2 separate regions of the Homo sapiens genome follow, and region 2 is linked to region 1. The links are contacts of gene promoters, found by promoter capture Hi-C in human tissues and cell types (Jung and others, 2019). All regions are on one chromosome and are shown on one strand. Each heading gives the region's core, a stretch centred on a gene start or on the middle of the fragment in contact. The rest is flanking DNA. Distances are from core to core; before and after follow the strand shown. Region 1 holds the start of CHMP4B (charged multivesicular body protein 4B). Region 2 overlaps CPNE1 (copine 1).

Region 1 (5,532 bases), core at 212-2,711:
AAAACATCGATTTAGCCCCTACTATGTGCTGAGCACTGTAAATCCATGATTTTCCTTTCAGAAAGGTAAATGAGCTCAAGGTCGCACTGCTAGTCACTAGCAGACTTCTGAGTGAATTACCTCAATCCTAAACCCCTCTCAAGGGGAAGGGATGTCGTTCTGTGATTCACTCTCACATGGCCATAACAAGAAAAAGCAAACATTTCTAAACTGCTTTACAGTTTTAAAGCATTTTCACATTCATCTCACTTAAGAAAAACACAAAGCACTTGGAATGCCCAGAAAGCCATACGACAACAGGAAGTAAAGTAAGCAGTGCCTCAAGATTCAATACTGGGGCCCTGAATCCTAGTAGTGGGGACTGGGGAGCAGTCGGGAGTCTCTATTTCTGGTTCAGACGGATGGGGAAGCGGTGAGTCATGGGGTGAAGGCTTGCGCCACGGGAAACTTTGGTAAGGTCAAGCTACGAGGCAACAAAAAGTGAATCACAACGCTGGAAAACACCTTAGGCCTCAACAGAGGCCGAACTCTGGCTGACGGATGGGGAAACTGAGGCCTCAAAGGGAAAGCAACTTGCTCAAGTTCACTCAGCAAGTGAATAGAGCAGGAATCGGGGGTCTCATCTCCCCCAGTCCCCTTTTCTCTCCAGCAAGGAGGCTTTTCAACGAGAATTCTGAGACAAGAGGACAGGGGAGAGGCCAAGGGGCAGCTCACAGATTCCACCGAGGAGTCGGGAGAGGGCACAGGTAGGACCAGGAAGCACAGAAATGCTAGGATGGGGGCAGAAATGAGCCGAGGAGGAGGCAGGGGCAGTAGCTAGGCAGGTGGGTGAGGCGAGAAGGAAAAGGCGGAAGAGAAAGGGACAGAGTGAGGGCGGAGGAAAGTGCTGTGAGATTGGGGTCTGAAGGGACCTGGCGGGGTGGAGAGAGGCTGAGGGGAGAGGGCAGAATAAGTCTGACGATGGAAAAGTCCAGGGATCGGGGAGACATTGAAGGGAGTCGGGGAGGGGGTCCCAGACCCGGCAAGAAGTCTGACCCGGAGAGTTCCAGGGTCAGACCAGACCCCGAGGCGAGTCTGATGAAGGTGAAGTCCGGGCCCGGGGAGCCTGGGGGGAGCCCGTGGCAAGTCTGAAGGGGCCGGGCAGCCTCACCGCGCTTGTTTTTGGTGCCGTGCTTCTTGGCGGCCGTCAGCTCCTGCTCGATTTTCTTCTCCAGGAACTCCTGTTTCTTGCTTAACATCTCTTCCGTGTCCCGCAGCCGCTGGATGGCCTCCTGGGGGGTCGGGCCGCCCTTGCCGGCCTTACCCCCTCCAGCCCCGAACAGCTTCCCGAACACCGACATGGTTGCTGCTCGCCGCGCCGGCCTTCGCCGCCCGCTCCGGCTCGGCTCGGCTCGGCTCGGCTCGGGTCGGCTCCGGCGCCCGCTCCCAGTCCCGCCGCTCCCTGCCGCCGCAGGCCTCTCCTCCGCCTCCGCCTCCGCCCCGCAGCTGGGCCCGGCCGCGCCACCTCCCACAGGCCCCCACGCCCGGCCCGGCAGGCGTCAGGGCAACGCGCCACTGACTACAACTCCCAGTGGGCAACGCGCCGGCCGCGCCTCAAATCTAATAGGGGGAAGCGTGCTGCATGCCGGGAAGCTATAGTCTTCCGGCTTCAGGCGCTCCCCGGCGCGTCTTTTGCTGTAGCTGGGGTCAAAGGGCGTGTGGCATTCTGGGAAATGTAGTCTCCTTGGCCTGCGCTCTGTAGGAGTGGCAGAACAGTAAGAGAAATGACAGTAAGTGTGCAACACTGCTCAAAAATTTATTGCTAGTATGGGATACTGCCATGCTTGAACTTCACATGTATATTCATGTGAAGTTGTCTTAAAAGCGTGAAGGCAACAGTTGTTTCCAATTTCAACCTGTCAATTCTGTGGTCACAGAAGCAAAGCAGTATCTTCTCCAGTTAAGTACGGTAGTGTCCCCCTTATCTGAGATTTTACTTTGAGTAGTTTCACTTGGCCAGCTAAGGTCTGACAGTATTAAATAGAAAATTCCAGAAATAAACAGTTCATAAGTTTTTAATTTCCATTGGCCTAATGAAATCTCGTGCTATCCTGTTCCATCCTACCTGCAATGTGAATCATCCCTTTGTCCAACATACCTCTACCATCTGTTAGTTACTTACCAGCTTAGGAGTTATCAGATGGACTGCCACGGTGTTGCAGTGCTTTGGTTCGAGTAACCCTCATTTTACTATATAATGGCCCCAAAGTGCAAGAGTAGTAATGCTGGCAGTTTGGATATGCCAAAATGAAGCTGTAAAGTGCTTCCTTTAAATGTAAATGTGGAAGTTCTGAGCTTAAGAAAAAAAATCGTATGCTGAGCTTACTGAGGTCTGCAGTAAGAACGAATCTTCTAGCCCTAGAATTGTGAAAGAGGAAAAAGAAATTCATGCTGGTTTTGCTGTCGTACCTCAAACTGCAAAAGTTACAGCCACAGTGTGTGATAAGTGCTTAGTTAAGATAGAAAAGGCATTAAGTTGTATCCTTACTTACAGGGGAAAAAAAGAAAATAAATTTTTTTACAAAAGAAAAGAAAAAGCATTAAGCTTATACGTGGAAGACACGAACAAAAAATGTGTTCCAACTGACAGCAACCTGTTACCCCCCAGAAAGCATTGAGCCTGTATAAAGGCTTCAGCAAGGAATCTCCTAAAACCAGTGGCACCAAGCCACTTACTGAAAGTAATGGATGGTTGCACTGACTTAGGAATAGGTTTAGACTGCAAAATATAAAAATTACTGGATGGGCTGGGCACAGTGGCTCACACCTGTAATCTCAGCACTCTGGCAGGCCTAGGCGGATGGATCACCTGAGGTCAGGAGTTTGAGACCAGCCTGGCCAACGTGGTGAAACCCCATCTCTACTAAAAATAAAAAATAAAAATAAAAAAATTAGCTGGGCGTGGTGGCGCACGCCTGTAATCCCAGCTACTTGGGAGGCTGAGGCAGGAGAATCACTTGAACCTGAGAGGCAGAGGTTGCAGTAAACTGAAATCGTGCTATTGCACTCCAGCCTGGGCGAAAAGAGCAAAATTCTGTCTCAAAAAGAAAAAAAAAATTACTGGAGCCGGGCGCGGTGGCTCACGCCTGTAATCCCAGCACTTTGGGAGGCCAAGGCGGGCGGATCACGAGGTCAGGAGATCGAGACCATCCTGGCTAACAAGGTGAAACCCCGTCTCTACTAAAAATACAAAAAATTAGCCTGGCATGGTGGCGGCGGGTGCCTGTAGTCCCAGCTACTCTGGAGGCTGAGGCAGGAGAATGGCGTGAACCCAGGAGGCAGAGCTTGCAGTGAGCCGAGATTGCGCCACTGCACTCCAGCCTGGGCGACAGAGAGAGACTCCGTGTCAAAAAAAAAAAAAAAAAAAAGGCCGGGCGCGGTGGCTCATGCCTGTAATCCCAGGACTTTGGGAGGCCGAGGCGGGCGGATCACGAGGTCAGGAGATCAAGATCATCCTGGCTAACACGGTGAAACTCCATCTCTACTAAAAATACAAAAAAATTAGCCAGGCATGGTGGCACGCGCCTGTAGTCCCAGCTACTCAGGAGGCTGAGGCAGGAGAATGGCGTGAACCCGGGAGGCAGAGCTGGCAGTGAGCCGAGATGGCACCACTGCACTCCAGCCTGGGCAACAGAGCGAGGCTCCGTGTCAAAAAAAAAAAAAAAAGTTACTGGAGGTTGGGTGCGGTGACTCACGCCTGTAATTCCAGCATTTTGGGAGACCAAGGCAGGTGGATCGCTTGAGCCCAGGAGTTGAGGCCAGCCTGGGCAACATGGCGAAACCCCATCCCTACAAAAAATACAAAATTTAGCTGGGCATGATGGCACAGGCCTATAGTCCCAGCTGCTCAGGAGACTGAGCCATGAAGATCATCTGAGCCTGGGAGTTTGAAACTGCAGTGAGCTGTGATCTCACCACTGCACTCGAGCCTGGGTGACAGAGTGAGACCCTGTCACAAATAAATAAATAAATATTACTGGAGAGGCTACAGCAAGACAAGTTGGTGGAGAAGGATTTGGGGACATGCTTGATGAAGAAGTGGAAGATCATATTGAAGGCCACTGGGAAGTGTTAACAAATGTGGAATTGGAAGAACTTGTCAAGTCATCTACAAAGAAAGAGGAAAATGAAGGAGAAACAGAAACAGAACCAGCAATATGGGTGTTATCAAAATTTGCCGAGTGTTTCAAATTGCACAGACATTAAAGGACAAAATTATGGAATTCAATCCTCAGATAGAACACAGCATTAAAACCACTCGTGTGGTCACCAAAGGATTACAACTTCTGCAGCCACACTTCTATGAATTAAAAAGAAAGAGGCCAGGCATAGTGGCTAACACCTGTAATCCTAGGACTTTGGGAGGCCGAGGTGGGCAGATCACTTGAGGCCCGGAGTTTGAGACCAGCCCGGCCATCGTGGTGAAATCCTGTCTCTACTAAAAATACAAAAATTCACCAGGCATGGTGGCGTGCACCTGTAATCCTAGCTACTTGGGAGGCTAAGGCAGAAGAATTGCTTGAACCCAAGAGGCAGAGGTTGCAGTGAGCCGAGATTGCGCCACTGCACTCCAGCCTGGGCGACAGAGACTCTGTCTCAAAAAAAAAAAAAAAAAAAAGAATTAAATAGAAAGAGATGGCCAGGTGCAGCGGCTCACGCTTGTAATCTCAGCACTTTGGGATGCTGAGGTAGGCGGGTCACTCGAGCTCACAGGTTTGAGACCAGCCTGGGCAACATGGTGAAACCTCATCTCTACAAAAAATGCAAAAAACTAGCTGGGTGTGGTGGCGCACACCTGCAGTCCCAGCTACTCAGGAGGCTGAGGTGGGAGGATCACCTGAGCCCAGGAGGTTGAGGCTGCAGTGAGCCATGATCACACCACTGCACTGAAACCTGGGCAACAGACTGAGATGCTATCTCAGAAAAAGAAAGAAAGAGACAACTTCCAGTAATAATGTTCTTCCAAAAGTTTTTGGCAAAAACGCAATTATCCAAGGACCCCCAATCATTGGTTGACATCGTCTGATCCTGATATCCAACCACTGACATCGTCATAGCTCAATGATCCAGGATCACCCAAAGCAGATGGTCCTCCTGACATCTCAGATGGTCAGTAGTAGCCTAACACTACCTCATAATGCCTGTGTCATTCACCTTACTTCATCTCATCACATAGGGATTTTGACATCACGCATAATCTCAAGAAGAAGGGTGAATACAGTACAGTAAGACATTTTGAGAGAGAGACCACATTCACAAAACTGAATACAGTATATTGTTATAATTGTCCCATTTTATTAATAGTTGTTATTAATCTCTTACTGTGCCTAATTTATAAATTAAACTTTATCATAGATGTATATATATAGAAAAAACACAGTATATATAAAGTTCAGTACTATTTATGTTTTCAGGCATCCACTTGCAGGTACACCTGAGGATAAAGGAGAACTATTGTATTTGAAAAACAACAATAATTAACATTGATGCACA
Region 2 (5,141 bases), core at 546-3,045, 1.8 Mb before region 1:
AACTGTTACAGGTGGTTCAAATAACGTTATGGTAATTTATGAAGAAAGTGAAATGTTTGGCGTGTTTATACAAAACAATGAAGATGTGCTTAGTATATATTATTGGACAGATTTTTAATGAAACAGGGAATACATTTTTATATATGCTCGATTAAATGTGATTACTTTGCTTATGGATTGTAATGTATAATTTTCATTTTCTTTATGTTCAAATCTGTTAGATGAAAAATGTGAAGCTTTAGAAATAATTGTGTGGTTACTTGCAACGTATTGTTACATGCTAATACCAGTACTCTTTGGGCTTCTTTCACCTTCTTTGACACGTCAAATGTTTTGATGATTGAGTATTGAGAGTTTGGGAGTTGTTAGTACAGTCTTTAGGTGTGAAACTTGATGTTGTGGGCCAGTGTGTTCCAGGTGCTGGAATCCAGTGACAGTGTTGATAGTTTTTACTCCATTTTGCAGAGAGCCATTCTGTCATTGTATGAATGTATGTTTTCTTCTGTAGATGTTGTAGGAAGAACCAAGTGTCAGTAGTTGGTTGCACAAAAGATGCTTTTAGATGTCCCTCCCTAAAATGCAGAGACTGATGATGTCCACTTTTATATCTTTTGTCTGGCCCACAAGTGCTTAATAGTAAATGTTCATGGAGTAAAGGAATATTGTTAAATGTTTTCAACTAAACAGAAAAGATAATTTTATCTAAACTACAGTTTTATCAGATTTTACTACCACACCCATATACCTTTTGGTTTGCACAAAATTTAATTAAGTTTAAAGCCAGCTTTTAAGACTCAAAAACAGAGTGAATGTGGTTGTTTAGGTTAGAAGTATAATTTTGCTCTGAAGTGAAAATGAAGGTAGCAACATTTTTGTTGGCATTTGGGGGGATTGAAACATAACTTAATATTTTTGACAGGAGGAATATCTTATTTAGAAATGTCTTCTGATTTGCTGCCTTTGAGTACGGAATGGAGGTTAATGGAAAAATTGAGTAATGCGTTATAAAAAGTACACATCTCCATCAGTGTCAGAATAATTTTTTCATTAAGAGTGATCCCAGACTTTGATATATGGTCCATTTGGGAATGGGGAACAAAATCAAGTGGCTGAAACTGTGGTTGTTTCATAATGTTTATTATAATGTGATTATACTGTTTTTAGCATTGTGCCCGTTGTGATTGGTTCTCTGTTGCTAATCTCTGAGGTGAACATTTGAGAGTTTGTTTCTTTTGGATCTGAAGAACCTAGCTCTGCTGTACCCTGGTTCTTGTTGATTAAAGAGTGATAACTGAACAAAGTTAAAGTTCACTTTTGGATGTTTACTACCAGATGAAGAGTGAAAATAGTCGTTTTAGTTTGTGCCTTGACTTCTTGATGAAGAGATTTGTTGTCAGACATTTTTTTCTGAAATTCCAAGTGATTAGAATGGCTAGTAAATACGAAAGTCTGTCTTGCCATAATATGTTAAATTTTTGTAGCAGATACTTGTGATTTGTGCATGCATCCGGTATTTTGTCAAGTTGAAGCAAGCCTTTATGTTAGGACTAATTCCTGATAATATGAATGGAAAACATACTAAAGCCAGCTTCTTGTTTTAGATCTTCTGAAGTATATCAGTGGCTTTAATGACAAATCAGGCCCATTTTCTCCTTTCCTATCATTATGCTGTATGTATAGATAGAATATGTATTTTAGATGTTTTATTGTTTAGTTATTATTTTAGTCTTATCCTTCTAAAGTTCAGCAAAGCTTTAGGTAAATGGCGTGGATTTTTGAAATCCTGCATTCAGTCGCTAGCTGACATTTAGAATACAGGAATAGTAGTTTCCTGGAAAACAGTGACACTTATGTTAAATTCTTGTGGTTTTTACAAAGTGAGGTGTCAACACAGAAGTATTTCAGTTCTATTTCCATTTACCTTTCCCTTTTGAAGAGGTATAATACCAAGGGTTGTGAAGTTCTGACTTGTAGCATCAACTTTCTGCATGGTTTTCCTTGGTATGGGGTGGGGTGGGTATTCCTCTTTGCTGAAATAGAAGAGAATCATAAATTTCTATCTGGATTGATTTTGTGCTTTAAGTTGTACACATAAAACTTGAACTAGGCATTTGTCAAATTCAGCTGGGCCTTTCAGCCTTGCCTTGTGGAATGAGAAATATCTTCCTTTTAAAGGTAATTTCTGGTAACCTTTTAGAAATTTTTGAGAGTAGACCTGGTGAGTTCCCTTTGAGCTTAACTGGCTGACCCCAGATATGTCCTTCTCAAGATAGACATACGGTATCTTTTGAGTTTGCAAGGGAAGAGGCTGAGAGGAACCTTCTTACCTTATATTCAGGCATATGCCCTGGCCCCATACCTGACCTTTTGAATTGGAATCTCCAGTAGGGATCAGATGTTTATTACAAGTTCTAGAAACTAGAAAGTTACCCTGTTATGTGGCTGCTGGAGTCAAACCTGTACATAAATATTACAGTACTTCATGCTCTTGCTCATTGCTTTACTTGAAGCAGGTTTTTTTCTGTTTCACATTTTCCTTTGTGACCTGTTAAACTACTAGATATGGCTTTCAAATGAAGAATTTTTAAACTCCTTAGACTTAGTTAGGCTAGGCCAGGCGTGGTGGCTCACACCTGTAATCTCAGCACTTTGGGAGGCTGAGGCGGGTGGATCACTTGAGGTGAGGAGTTAAGAGACCAGCCTGGGTAACATAATGAAACCCCTGTCTCTACTAAAAATACAAAAATAAGCTGCGGGTGGTGGCGCAAGCCTGTAGTCAGTCCCAGCTACTCCAGAGGCTGAGGCATGAGAATAGCTTGAACCCAGGGAGGCGGAGGTTGCAATGAGCCTAATGAGCCTAGATCGCGCCACTGCACTCTAGCCTGGGCGACAGAGCGATACCCTGTCTCAAAAAAAGAAAAAAAAAAGAGGCTAGATTTCTACAACATGTAAAAGATTAATACAATGCTCTAGACTTTTGATTGTGTTGATTACATATTTGCATAGCTTTTTGTGGTAAAACCATCTCACTATTCTTTAGCAACTTGAGTAGTTGACTAGACGATGAATAGTTTGTCCTTTAGAAAATCACACAGATTTTTGAAATATGTTTTACTTTTTGGCGATGAATATTAAGGTCATTAGTTGTATTTTGGTCTTGGAAGATACTAATTTAAGATGAGCATCATTTGGAAAAGTAGTCGTAGGTAATCTTAATACTGAACAGTGGCAAATTTCTTCTCTCTCCGAATTAAAACATGACCTTTGAAAAAAAATAAAAAGCAAAAAATGACCTTTGAATATAGTTGTCTAGACATTTGGTCATATATGCTTGTGACTTGTTAATAACCTCACCAGTTTGGAAGAAATGACAGTGAAAGATGAGTGACCTGTTTTTATTTTGGGATATACTCTTAATATGTCAGGCATTTTTAGGGTGTTTTTAAATTTTATTTTATTTTATTTATTTAAATTTTACAAGTTTTTGAGAACTGTTGTGATGTCAGAGGAAAAAACACTTTCCCTTAATATTTTGTTAATATTTTGAGCTCCAGTGGAATTAGTCCTTATAGCAAGAACTCATACTTCATTTGTTTTGTGATGTTGGATGCTATTTTGTGCAAAATAAAATATATTGAAAGAATAATTGCAGTAATTTCCATGAGTACCCTTGAATTGCTATCTTAAGTTGTCCAAGAATTGTTATTGTGCGAACTTGTGCCTTTTCATCACAAATTTGGTGAGAACCTGGGGAAATAGACTTGTGTTACGGAGTTTTCTGGACTGGTTTAATTATAAAGTGATCAAAGCAATTAGCTGTGAAGCTGAGCTTTATGACTGTTTTAATTTTCAGTGGATTCGTTATTGGGCTAAGTTAATGACACTCTTGTAAATATATAATTATTTTGAGATACTCAAATTTGAAAGCAATACCAACTAAAAAGCATGTGTGGGATTTTGTTACGGTGTCTTTCTTTTTTTTTTTTTTTTTGATATGCATTCTAATGAAGTACTCTGGTGGTTTCAGACTCGCCTTCGTAATGTACAGTGTGGCCTGTGCGTGTTGTTTTGTGTTTCCTGCATTGATTTTTGCCTCCGTTTATTCTCTATTGCAGTCTAAAAGTTGGTTTTAATTGGTTGCCCACAGGATTGACTTGGCCTCTACTTCTTGTTAAGGAAATTCATCTCTTGTTTTATCAGGTAAGAGATTTTGAATAGAGAGTTCGTTTTTATACAAAATAAAATGAGATAGCTTATTAAGAAATATGAAAATATATGTAGCAACTATATTGTGTGTGTGTGTGTGTGTGTGTGTGTGTGTGTGTGTTTTTGTTTGCTTGTTTTTTGTTTTGAGACGGAGTCTTGCTCAGTTGCCCAGGCTAGACTCTGTTGCCCAGGCTGGAGTGCAGTGGTGCCATCTCGGCTCACTGCAACCTCCGCCTCCCGGGTTCAAGCACTTCTCTGCCTCAGCCTCCCGAATAGCTGGGATTACAGGCGCCTGCCACCATACCCGGCTAATTTTTTTGTATTTTTAGTAGAGATGGGGTTTTATCCTCTTGGCCAGGCTGGTCTTGAACTCCTGACCTTGTGATCCACCTGCCTTAGCCTCCCAAAGTGCTGGGATTACAGGCATGAGCCGCCACCCAGGCCGGTGTGGTTTTTTACAAGTTTATCTGAGGGATAGGGGTGGGGTAGATGGGTGCTTTGAACAGTTGTTCCTTTGGGGGTCAATTTCATTTATATGGATCTATTTATCTTGTGATTTTCCTGATAGGCAGTAAGTTTTATTCCTTAGTAGCATTTTAGACTAATTACAAATACAGATGCTTGTTATTGATATGTTTATTTATATTTCCTAAGAGTTTAAGTATAGATAATGGGTCACATGTTTTAGAGTACAAATTTTAGACTTTAAATGGAACCTTAGCAAGTGGAATCTAACCCTCTTGTTTAAGTAACTAAGATAGGCCCAAGTTAGGTTGAAATGACTTAGCTGTCAAACAGTTACTTAGTAACAGAAAAGCAGATACTTTTTTAAATTTTTTTTTAAATTTTTATTTGTTTTATTTATTTATTTCTTTTTGAGACAGAGTTTCGCTCTTGTTGCCCAGGCTGGAGTGCAGTGGCGTGATCTCTGCCTC

What was found. Contacts are between HindIII fragments. The study calls those that stand out against the background at their distance.
Region 2: a fragment that was not itself captured here is called in contact with the fragment with the promoter of CHMP4B in region 1 in 1 of the 25 tissues and cell types used here (hippocampus).

Annotation. Positions count from the first base shown.
Region 1 is chr20:33,807,277-33,812,808 of GRCh38, reverse strand. It overlaps CHMP4B (charged multivesicular body protein 4B), which reads right to left and starts at 1,461. Exons shown (of 5, transcript NM_176812.5): 1 at 1,151-1,461. The coding sequence starts at 1,340. It overlaps ZNF341-AS1 (ZNF341 antisense RNA 1), which reads left to right and starts at 1,710. Exons shown (of 4, transcript NR_110623.1): 1 at 1,710-1,769. RefSeq lists enhancers at 168-237, 66-906, 1,673-1,752, 1,492-1,786 and a silencer at 1,333-1,612. The HindIII fragment of the contact is 9,541 bases long and covers 1-4,408 here.
Region 2 is chr20:35,657,989-35,663,129 of GRCh38, reverse strand. All of the region lies in intron 1 of CPNE1 (copine 1), which reads left to right. RBM12 (RNA binding motif protein 12) reads left to right here. Exons shown (of 3, transcript NM_006047.6): 2 at 4,116-4,200. Among named protein-coding and RNA genes, the nearest start is that of CPNE1, 4.3 kb to the left of the region's middle. The HindIII fragment of the contact is 4,098 bases long and covers 1-3,844 here.